Linked DNA regions of Homo sapiens: regions 1 and 3 are each linked to region 2. The links are contacts of gene promoters, found by promoter capture Hi-C in blood cells and fetal thymus (Javierre and others, 2016). All regions are on one chromosome and are shown on one strand. Each heading gives the region's core, a stretch centred on a gene start or on the middle of the fragment in contact. The rest is flanking DNA. Distances are from core to core; before and after follow the strand shown. Region 1 holds the start of OR56A3 (olfactory receptor family 56 subfamily A member 3). Region 2 holds the start of OR52B6 (olfactory receptor family 52 subfamily B member 6). Region 3 holds the start of OR52E8 (olfactory receptor family 52 subfamily E member 8).

What was found. Contacts are between HindIII fragments. The CHiCAGO score rates a contact against its expected background, and 5 or more counts as called.
Region 1: the fragment with the promoter of OR56A3 here is called in contact with the fragment with the promoter of OR52B6 in region 2 in 4 of 17 cell types (M2 macrophages, megakaryocytes, non-activated CD4 T cells and 1 more); the score reaches 8.3 in M2 macrophages.
Region 3: a contact is called between the fragment with the promoter of OR52E8 here and the fragment with the promoter of OR52B6 in region 2, in 15 of 17 cell types (M2 macrophages, M1 macrophages, monocytes and 12 more). The highest score is 9.7, in M2 macrophages.

Annotation. Positions count from the first base shown.
Region 1 is chr11:5,940,899-5,944,657 of GRCh38, forward strand. OR56A3 (olfactory receptor family 56 subfamily A member 3) reads left to right here and starts at 1,353. Exons shown (of 3, transcript NM_001003443.3): 1 at 1,353-1,476. The HindIII fragment of the contact is 14,826 bases long and covers 1-3,759 here.
Region 2 is chr11:5,578,192-5,582,126 of GRCh38, forward strand. OR52B6 (olfactory receptor family 52 subfamily B member 6) reads left to right here and starts at 2,686. Exons shown (of 1, transcript NM_001005162.2): 1 at 2,686-3,693. The coding sequence starts at 2,686. The coding sequence ends at 3,693. RefSeq lists a silencer at 2,928-3,222 and an enhancer at 2,928-3,222. The HindIII fragment of the contact is 3,709 bases long and covers 1,321-3,935 here.
Region 3 is chr11:5,856,008-5,859,942 of GRCh38, forward strand. OR52E8 (olfactory receptor family 52 subfamily E member 8) reads right to left here and starts at 1,683. Exons shown (of 1, transcript NM_001005168.3): 1 at 742-1,683. The coding sequence starts at 1,683. The coding sequence ends at 742. The HindIII fragment of the contact is 1,911 bases long and covers 640-2,550 here.

The sequences.
Region 1 (3,759 bases), core at 103-2,602, 360 kb after region 2:
CCCTAAGTGGAGGAGATGTAATTGGAGTACAGAAAGACCAAACCCGCTAAAGCTCGCAAGAAAGAATACTGGAGAAAAGAAAGCTGCACACAGAGAGAAGCCTGAAAACCTACAGAGGATCTTCCTCAAGTAATGAATGAATGTGTGCAGATGAGGACACTAACCAAGGTGGAGGAAGGGAGGAGGGCACCTAAAAGAATTAGTGAGAACAGTATCCAATCAACACACAGGGCCTGAAATAGTATCTGTTTCCACCGTCGAGAAAGGAAAGCATTATAATTCATAAGGCATTGGGGAAAATTCTCAAATGGTCTTTCTTAGTAGTGAACAGCAGTAAAAAATAATAAAGTCAACTTACACATAGCAACATGTATAAATTTGAAGATATAGCATTGATAGAAAAAGAATAACAGATTTACAACCCAGTGACAGTTATATAAATTCAATTTTAAAAGAATTTTTTCATAAATTAAGTATATCCCTGTATAAGCATACTGAAAATTAATTAGAAAGATATATTTTAAATCCACTGGAGTTTTCACTTTCCTAAAGGGAAGGGAAATAGGAGGAATGTTGGAAAATACAGGAAAAGAAATAAAGCAAAAGTCTTGAAGAAACTTATGATGCTTGTTTCCATTAGTTGATAAGTGTGAATAATTCATATAAGGTTCAAAATGAAAATAAAACCTAAAGGAAAAACATAGTTGCTAACTAATATTGGGTTATTTATAAATTCCATTTTTAAACCTCTCACCACAAAAAAAATTATTATAGGTCTTTTTTCTCTGAATATCACATTGCATTTTCTCAGTAAGATTTTGTTCAGTTTTCTCTTGCATTTTTATCATAATACCTTCATAAAAGTCATGATAGATTAACACCAATCCATTCAATAGCATGGTTTGGGCAGTGCCTATCAAACAAAACAAGCAGGAAGCCCACAAAAATTTCCATTCACTTATTGGATCCACAGAAGCTGCTCAGTGTGCATAGGCAGATGAATATGAACACAGATGGATGTGAACATAAGATCCCTGTACCCAGGAGACGTACTTACTGCCTACAGGACAAGCAGTCAGTGTAGCACTGGATTACCGGGGGTTTTTTGTCACAGAAAGAAAGAGAATAATTTTCTTCTCCCATCTAACTGCCTGTTTTTCCCAGGAGGACCTTTTGGTCCTACGGGAAGAGGGATTAAGAAGTTCCCAGAGGTCAGAGTTTCTGAGGCACTACAATTATAACTGCCCCAGATACTTCTGAAACTAACAAGAGCTCCAATATTAATGGAGCCAAACCCCATGCTTCACATTTTCTGTGAGTCTGGCTAGAGGATGTTAATGGTGGCTATACAAAGATTAGCCAGAAGACTAGAGAGATCTCTGTCTTCAGTCCCTATCTGTGCTCTTTTCCATTCCTGCGTCAATACTGCTGAAGTAGTCTGAGAAGGAAATAAATAAAGACTGCACCCTGTCTCAGGTAAAGAGGCTTATGTGCTCTGGGACCTTCTCTCTTTTGCCATCCTCTGGGTGCTTGGTGGTAGCAGAAATGCAGGAAAGTTGCAATTTGTCTATAGAAGATTAACAGGCAGTATGAGAGCTAAAAAGTGCATAATTTGGAGCCAAGTAAAGAAAATTTGGAGTTTTCAACTCTGAATATGGAAATTTAGTGGCTTGAAAACAAAGAATATGCCTACCAGTGTCTGAATTATAAAGTTAGAATTACATTAGTTTCTATAACTTCAGAGGTTGAAGACAAAGACCACAGTTCAGGACCAGTGGAAGTCAGGAAGTAGTTCAAAATATTTCTGATCAAAATTGCTAAAATCTACTTCTGACAAGAACAGAAAACTACGCCCAGAAGAGCAGCTAGCTACCTGTCACTGGATGCACTGAATAATATCTGAAACTACACCTGAGAGAGGTATCTTACAGGCCTGCCTGAATTTTACCAAGATAGAACCCTAGCAACTCTTTTACTTTTTAAAACAGGGTTTCTTTGGCACTATTCTGTGGGCCTATCTTGCAACCTGGGAAAGCCTAGGCTGATGGTCTCTCCTTTAGTCTTTGAGCTTCAACTTCTTTGGCTTTCTCATCTTGTTCCTGGCTGGAACTGGAAACCATTAGCTCCAGTTCCTAAGCCCTAGTGTGCCATTGGCAAGTTTTGATTACAAACCAAGATTGAATAATGAAAGGAGAAAAGGAGCAAATGTGTTTCCAGATGCTTTACTTCTAGGGATGAGTACTTTATTGATGCTTGTTGAATGATTGAAAAACATGCAGAAACATTAGAGAAAATAGAAGGAAAAAGGAAAAGTCAGTGAGTTAGAAAAATAAAATAATCCTCCCATGTAATCCTCAGAAATTTCATCTTAGTGCTAAAAATAATTATCCCAAAGCTCTTCAAGAGACAGAAAATATACTTTTTCCTCTAGGCTTCTCTATGGATACTCATGCCTAAGTCACTAGATCTTCCATTTGGCTCTACCCTGCAAAGGTCATTTCAAGATTTTCTCTACTTCCAAGCACAAAACATTTAATTCCTTCTAGGAGTCCTTTGTGACCCCTGGAGAAGAAAAGCTACTTGGAAAGGTAAGATTTGGGGCTGTGATTTTCTTTAAAAAAAAAAAAAAAAAAACCACCTTATTTGCTTCAGGTTTTTTAAAATAAAATAAAACATTTCTGAAGTTTAAGTCCCCTTCATACACTGCAAAAGGCTCCTAGAACAGATAAAGGACTCCAGGATACAAAATCAATGTACAAAACTTAGTAGCATTTCTGTACGCCAATAAAGTTCAAGCTAAGAGCTGAATCAAGAATGCAATCCTAGTTACAAGTGCCACAAAAAGAATAAAATACCTGAGAATACAACTAACCAAGAGGCTGTGATTTTTAACTGTAAAAATTTTGCAGAAAGTAGGATCAGAGGATGCAATGAGCAAAGGAATAAATGACAAGAAAGTAATGCAGAAGATAGTGTTTAAAGGGAATATGTGGAATTTAACAGCCTATAGTTGTACTTGCTGTGGGTGCAAAGTTAATTGGGGTTGGGTCAATTATGCCAAGTTCTAGGCTTAGAAGGTCTTACTGGTTTTTGTTCCACACTTACAAGTTAATGTATTCAAAGACAGAGAAGGAAAAGAAGTGAATGAACATAGTGCCCAGGGCATGAAGAAGGGTCGTTAGTCACCAACTGGAGGCTGGAAGTTTTGTTCTAGGGGTTATTATCTTGAGGACCTCCTGTAACTCCAGTATGTCTTACTCTCAGTGAGCCACTCTATCAAGGAAAATGGCAAAAATATTAGAAAAGAGAAAGTAAGATTGGAGGGTGGCAGGTATGAAGTGCATAGAGAATGATTTTATAATCTTTATTTAACCTTGAAGGGGTTGTTCCTTAAGAGTCAAAACCAGGAATACAATAAAAGACACAATACAAAAGGGGAATAAGGAGGGAATTGGAGCCTATGAGCTGTGGGAAGCAGGAGTCGGAGTTGCAAGAGGAAGGAAGAGGGAGAATCTCCAGACTGCTGAAAAACAGCCCTTAGAATTGTATGTGTATGGAGAGTGTGGGTGGAAAAGAAAAACCTACAAAATATATAAAACAAAATCCCAAATAACATAAACATGTATGCATCACTATGGTGACACAGGGCACAGGCGTATTCCTATTTTCACTGGCTTGGACCTGAATGAATTATTTAGACCTTTATTTTCTCCACAGCTGAACCCTGAGAAACTGTAGGAAGACATGTAAAACCACTAA
Region 2 (3,935 bases), core at 1,436-3,935:
AATAGATGGGGAAATTATTCTTGACGATACAGCTACATACATTCATACACATAAACACATGTATATACATGCATATGTATATATGTACACATATGAATGCATGCATGTAAGTATGCATATGTATGTTTGTGTGTGTATAAGGTTGTTTTAAAAACAATCTAATATGTTAAATATTCATACACGAGGCCCTAGGTTCATTTCCCAGCACCTCAAAAAATAACTCAAGAAACTTGTCTTATATTTAGGTAAAGTAAAATATGTTCCAGCTATGACAAAAGAAACATTGGAAAATAGGAAAGATACTGGCACCTCTTTCTCTGGGACTGGAGGAAATGAGGGGAGGATGGATGCAGAGATAAATAAATGTACAGGAAAGGAATAATATGAGGGATATGTTCCTGATAGTCCTGAAATGTGAGTTACAAAAGAGAAACATTCAGTGGAGAGAGAAAAACAGAATTTGGGCAGTGATAAAAGTCGTATATGCCAGGTGTGGTGGCTCACATATGGGAGCCACCAGCACTTTGGGAGGCCAATGCCAGCATTTTGGGAGGCCAAGGCAGCTGGATCACTTGAGGTCAGGAGTTCAAGACCAGCCTGGCCAACATGATGAAACCCCATCTCTACTAAAAATACAAAAAAAAAATTAGCTGGGCATGGTGGTGGGCGCCTGTAATCCCAGTTATTTGGGAGGCTGAGACAGGAGAATCACTTGAACCCAGGAGGCAGAGGTTGCAGTGAGCGGAGATCACGTCATTGCACTCTAGGCAGGGAGACAGAGTGAGACTCCATCTCAAAAAAAAAAAAAAAGTCGTATATTCATTGTGAGAATAGTTCAATAGGACTAAGGAGGAATCATGTGTCCTAATATGTACTAAAGACTACTTATGTGATTGTGTCATTTTTTCACATCCTGACTATGTAAGCTGAGGATAACACTAGTTAGATTTAGTTGAAGTCTGAGAATTTACAGATGCAGGGGAAACCAATGGATACTAAAAGGTAATGATCCTGGTGGAACTGATAGACATCTAGAGTAGATAGGGAAGAAAGTTCAAAAAGTTCTTACATCAGTGGCTCACAAACTTCAGCATGAATCAGAATCACCTAGAGAGCTTGCTAAAACACAGAATGTTATCCCAACTCTAGGTTTTCTCATCCGTAGGTTTGTGGTAGGGCCGAAGAATTTACAAGTTCCCTGATGGTGCTGTGGAGACCAAGCTTCAGAAGCATTGTTCTACACCTTCCTTTCTGCTCTGGATGACAGTGCCACATTTCACAGCCACAGAGGTGACTCAGGAAGTCACACGCAATTTAATAAGCTTTCCACAGAGAAAATTTAGCTTAATATACCAACAAAACAACAATTATGCTCATTTTAAAAATTAGAAAATTGCTCACACCTGTAATCCCAGCACTTTGGGAGGCCCAGGTGGGTGGATCACGAGGTCAGGAGATCGAGACCATCCTGGCTAACACGGTGAAACCCCGTCTCTACCAAAAATACAAAAAAATTAGCCGGGCGTGGTGGAGGGCGCCTGTAGTCCCAGCTCCTTGGGAGGCTGAGGCAGGAGAATGGCGTGAGCCTGGGAGGCGGAGCTTGCAGTGAGCCGAGATCGCGCCACTGCACTCCAGCCTGGGCGACAGAGCGAGACTCCGTCTCAAAAAAAAAAAAAAAAGAAAGAAAGAAAGAAAATTGTTACTCAGAGAAGACAGTGACTTGTCCAAGATCAAGCAGCCAATAGTTAACAGGGCAGACCTCTGACCCAGGTTTTTTCACACCCTCTGCGGTGTTCTTTCTAAATGCCGTAGCTACCTTAATTGCCTTCATACTTAGCGCATCTGTGCCTAGGGAAAAATGGGTGTAGGGTTGGCAGTGCCCACCACCCCCAACCCTACTCTTTCACATAATCTGCTAATCAAATTGTTGTTTAGTCCTCTTGTTGTAGGACTGCAGTCCTCTCTGTAGGGCCTGGGGCTTTTGCAGAGCTCATTACAGTTCACATGCCCAAAGAGATTGTACAGATTGGTTTTGATGTTCTACCTATCCCTGTTCTTTTCTGGACCTATGGCACTGTGCTGAGTCTGGCAATGTTTTTGAGCCCTTTAGTTTCCTGAAAAAAAATTTTTTTTTTTTTGAGACGGAGTCTCACTCTGTCGCCCAGGCTGGAGTGCAGTGGCGCGATCTCGGCTCACTGCAACCTCCGCCCTCCAAGTTCAAGTGATTCTCCTGCCTCGGCCTCCCGAGTAGCTGGGATTACAGGCGCCTGCTACCACACCCAGCTGATTTTTTGTATTTTCAGTAGAGACAGGGTTTCACCATCTTGACCAGGCTGGTCTTGAACTCCTGACCTCGTGATCCACCAGCCTCAGCCTCCCAAAGTGCTGCGATTACAGGCGTGAGCCACTGCGCCCGGCCTAGTTTCCTGAAATTCTTAAAGCTGTGTGGAGAGCTTCTGAGTAAGAACACTGAGCCTGTCTGTGGGCAGGTCCTGTAACTGTGCAGAGCCTATGTGTAATTATTTACGGAGAATATGGCTGTGTGCAGAGCCTGTGTGTGATTATCTGTAGAGATATGCCTGTGTGCAGAAGCCATAACTGTCATCGGGCCTGTAAGTATATGCAGGCCTTGTGCATATGGACACTCTACTAATGTATTCAAAAATCTGAAGCTCTTTTTTCCCTATGGCACAGGTGAGGGCGCTGCATAAAATCATGGCCCTTTTTTCTGCTAACAGCATAGGTGCTATGAACAACTCTGACACTCGCATAGCAGGCTGCTTCCTCACTGGCATCCCTGGGCTGGAGCAACTACATATCTGGCTGTCCATCCCCTTCTGCATCATGTACATCACTGCCCTGGAAGGCAATGGCATCCTAATTTGTGTCATCCTCTCCCAGGCAATCCTGCATGAGCCCATGTACATATTCTTATCTATGCTGGCCAGTGCTGATGTCTTGCTCTCTACCACCACCATGCCTAAGGCCCTGGCCAATTTGTGGCTAGGTTATAGCCTCATTTCCTTTGATGGCTGCCTCACTCAGATGTTCTTCATTCACTTCCTCTTCATTCACTCTGCTGTCCTGCTGGCCATGGCCTTTGACCGCTATGTGGCCATCTGCTCCCCCCTGCGATATGTCACAATCCTCACAAGCAAGGTCATTGGGAAGATCGTCACTGCCGCCCTGAGCCACAGCTTCATCATTATGTTTCCATCCATCTTTCTCCTTGAGCACCTGCACTATTGCCAGATCAATATCATTGCACACACATTTTGTGAGCACATGGGCATTGCCCATCTGTCCTGTTCTGATATCTCCATCAATGTCTGGTATGGGTTGGCAGCTGCTCTTCTCTCCACAGGCCTAGACATCATGCTTATTACTGTTTCCTACATCCACATCCTCCAAGCAGTCTTCCGCCTCCTTTCTCAAGATGCCCGCTCCAAGGCCCTGAGTACCTGTGGATCCCATATCTGTGTCATCCTACTCTTCTATGTCCCTGCGCTTTTTTCTGTCTTTGCCTACAGGTTTGGTGGGAGAAGCGTCCCATGCTATGTCCATATTCTCCTGGCCAGCCTCTACGTTGTCATTCCTCCTATGCTCAATCCCGTTATTTATGGAGTGAGGACTAAGCCAATACTGGAAGGGGCTAAGCAGATGTTTTCAAATCTTGCCAAAGGATCTAAATAAATGCTTTCAACTTAGTCTCAACCCTTTTCTATACCTATCAATTGTCCCGTATTTAGCCCATTCTCACCTCTACATCTTCCAATTATCCCTGTGTTATTCTCATCGATCTCCCAATTTTTTTAAATATGTCACCTATTCAAACCCACCTCTGATTTCTTTTATTGGAAATCTTTAGTAAAATCTGTCTCATTCTCTTACTCTTCCTATTGAAATGCAATCTGATTTCCCATCACCTCAAGAAA
Region 3 (3,935 bases), core at 433-2,932, 280 kb after region 2:
ACACGCACACGCACATATATTCATATATGTAAAAATATATTATGTAAATATTATTTAAATAATTAAACAAGCAAATGAATGAAATATTTACGAATGTATATGTCATGCTCATGCTGCATTATTTCCTTTTTCCTTTAATATCTAATTTTATGACTATGCTTGCATCTCTAGGTGCATGAGGGAAATTATAGTAACTATTGAATAAGATTATGGTGGGCATGATATGAGTATATTCATGTGTGGTATACCTGTCAATACCCATATATCTACACTGCATCTATGGTATGTTAATATTATTACTAGAGTAAGCTATTATTATTATTTTAAGAATTCTAGAAGCCACTTATTCTGTTTATTATCTTTTTAAAGTAAGAATTTTATTCCGTATTCTGTTATTTCTTAAACATACTAAAGAAAACTATAAGGCAGTCTATTTGGCTTAAATTACTACTTCCTATTAAACATGTAGTTTGAGTAAATCACTCAACTTTTCCGAACATAAGTATATTAATCACAAGAATGGAAAAACTAATACATACTTTATAAAACTGCCTTGAGGATCCAGCAATAGAAATAAAAGAACTTGGAAAAGGAGAGTTCGACAAGGGTAAAATTCTCATTATTATAATTAAAGTCAAAAGCTTCAGTTAACAGATAAATAATGTTATTGGCTGCAGCATTCCCTTCTGTTTTTCTGCTTTCTATTAGGTTAGAGTGACAGACTCTCCAACCTCCAACTGGTTAGTGATTGGTCTTGAGAAAAATCCTCAGCACTCTCTCTCGAATCTGCTTTGTCCTGACTCCATAGATTACAGGATTGAGGGCTGGTGGGACAACCACATACAGGTTGGCTAATATAATATGTATATACTGTGGGATATTATGGCCAAAACGATGTGTCAAGAATGAAAAAAATGCTGGTGTAAAAAAGGCTAAGATAACACCAATATGAGAACCACAGGTGTTGAGAGCTTTGAGTCGAGCTTCCCAGGAGGGCAGGCAGAAGACAGCATACAGGATCCTGACATAGGAGAGAATAATAAGGATAACATCCAGTAACAAGAGAGATATGTTGCCAAGGCCAAACCTAATGTTGACTTTGATGCTGGCACAGGCCAGACGGGCAATGCCCATGTGCTCACAATAAGTATGAGGGATGATACGATGCCCACAGAAGGGCAGCCTCAGAAGGAGAAACACCAGTGGAACAACCATGTACAGGCTCCTCAGGACAGCAATGCCTGCAATGAGGCTGATGATTTTGCTGGTGAGGATCATGGTGTACCGAAGAGGTTTGCAAATGGCAATGTAGCGGTCAAAGGCCATGGCCACCAACACAATGCTCTCCATAGCAGTGAAGAAATGGATGAAGAACATGTGAGAAAGGCAGCCTCCAAAAGATATTTCTTTGGTATTGAACCAGAAGATGCCCAACATTTTGGGGATGGTGGCTGTAGACAAGCCCAGGTCAATGGAATCCAACATGGCCAGGAAGTAGTACATAGGCTCATGGAGACTCTGCTCAGTCTGGATCACAAACAAGAGAGCAGTGTTTCCCAGGAGTGCAACAAGATACACAAAGAAAAAAGGGACTCCAATCCAAATGTGCACATCTTCTAGCCCTGGGATACCCAGCAGTAGGAATGAAGAAGGATGGAACTGGGTGTGATTAGACGTAGACATTCTTCCTGCCATATAAAGCTGCTGGGCACACCAGCGACGATTATAATATTCCTATTAGTAATTCTTGTTCCACTTCTTCTTTTGTTCAGATTTCTAGTCAAATTCACAATAACATATTAATCTTTCTTTATATATATTCATGAGTAAGGTAAAATACTCTCCACAATTTCTCCTAGCCTCTCCTGAGCAACATTGGTACCAGGAATAGAACCAGTCTTATTCTACTGCCCCTTCACCTAATATCAAAGACTAATATAAAAAGAAATGGCAGAAGAATGTCATCTGCCAAATAAAAATGCAAAATCTGGAATTTAGCCAGAACTAAATGAGAAAAATAAAGTTCCAGGGTCAGTGTCTATAGAAATGTTACACATATTTTTGCTTCACGATCAAGGTATTTGTAATCTCAACTATTCCTCTATTTGGGAATCAAAAATGTAGTGTGTAAAACCGTTTCTGTGTTGTTATGCATTTTTACAGGTATTTGTGACTACTAGACTGTATACTTCTATATACAATTTAGACTATACTGTATACAATTTGGGACTACTAGACTGTATACTTCTGTATACAATTTAGGCTGTATATACTGTATACAGTTTGTGACTACTAGACTGTATACTTCTGTATACAATTTAGACTGTGTATACTGTATACAATTTGTGACTACTAGACTGTATACTTCTGAGAGAAGAAACAATTTATCTTGCTCATATGCAGGAAAAAGATCTGCTACATAATAGTTCTCAATTTAAAACCTCCACAAATAGACATTGATTACAAGGAGGCAAAACTGTGGGTAATTTTAATGTCATATTTTAGGAAATAAATAATTTAGTTTCCATCACACCTGTGTTTGAGAAAAGAAGCTTATCCATCGGATTTGGAAAATGGGTAAAAACAAGGAAAAGAAAATACTTGACAAAGAGTATTTTGCAGCTATGATGGAACATGGATGAAGAGATAATTTTAATCTAGATAATCCTATTATTTGGAGAGTGCATAAATACACGCATTCAGTAAAGAAACTGTTTATATATAGGCCAGCTTTTTCTGTGGCAAGGAAACTAAATATTCTGGGCTACAAAATTTTCAAATATATCTCAGTCTTATATTCATGGGAAGAAAGTAGAAGCCCTTTGGATGACCTACAGTTTAGCTGCTACTCAAATTCTATCCCAGCTGTTTTGTCTCTATGGATGTCTCCAATATAGTAAATCCTGAATTTACAGATAGTAAATCCTGAATTTACGGATAGTAAATCCTGAATTTACAGATAGTAAATTCAAAATTTGAAGCAAAAAGTTCATTACTGCGCAACTTACTTTTACTTGGGAAAAACTAGTTTTACAGATAATGCGGAATTGGTTAAATGTGACGTGGCAACTACACAAAAAGCATTGATTACAATTTAAGAATACTTGAACATTGGGGGAAGTCAGAATTGAGACGTACGCAGCAGAGATAAAAGTGTGTGAATGTCAGCAAGTTCTACTTTAATCCTGTAACAACAAAAATGCATTGCTGGTAGTACCTATTTGAAGCATACGAAGAATAGCAAAAATGAGAGATTATTTGATAATTTGGGAAATTATTTCAGAGAGAGAGAGAGAGAGAGAATGTGTGTGTATAAACTTGGGTGAAACTATCAGAGATAAGGGTATAAACTTCCTGTTTTTCACTAATTGAGAATACACAAAATAGGCAGCGAAATACCTTTCACAATTTATCCCATCAAATATTGAAGAGGTTCTCTATGTATCAGTGGTAATTAGGAAGTTTAAATACAAAAAATGAATAAAACTGGTCATATATCCTTAAGGAAATCACCACGTAGTAAAGAAGATAAAATTCCAAACATGAAATTTAAGAACTGTACTGCAAGTGCTATGGTAGAAATGTGCACAGGATGTTTTAAATGTAGAGGTGAGTCAAGAAAAATTGTATAGAGGAAGTTAGGCTTATGCTGACTTACAGAGAAATTCTTCTGACAAAAAAGAAAGAAAATTTTATTCTGTATAAATAAGCAGGGGCAAAGTGGGAAAAAAAGCACAGTGGCCACTTAGGATATAAAAATGAAATCAGTCATCCTCTTCAATGGTCTTATCCAGAGATTCTTATTAAGTCTGATGTCTTGGTCATGTTTAGGGGCTCCATACAGCATGAACTGAAAAAATAAAAATATGGCTACATTCCAAGGATAGCAACTTATCCCATGTATCTCTGTGGATTTTAAAAGAAGATTTGGAAAT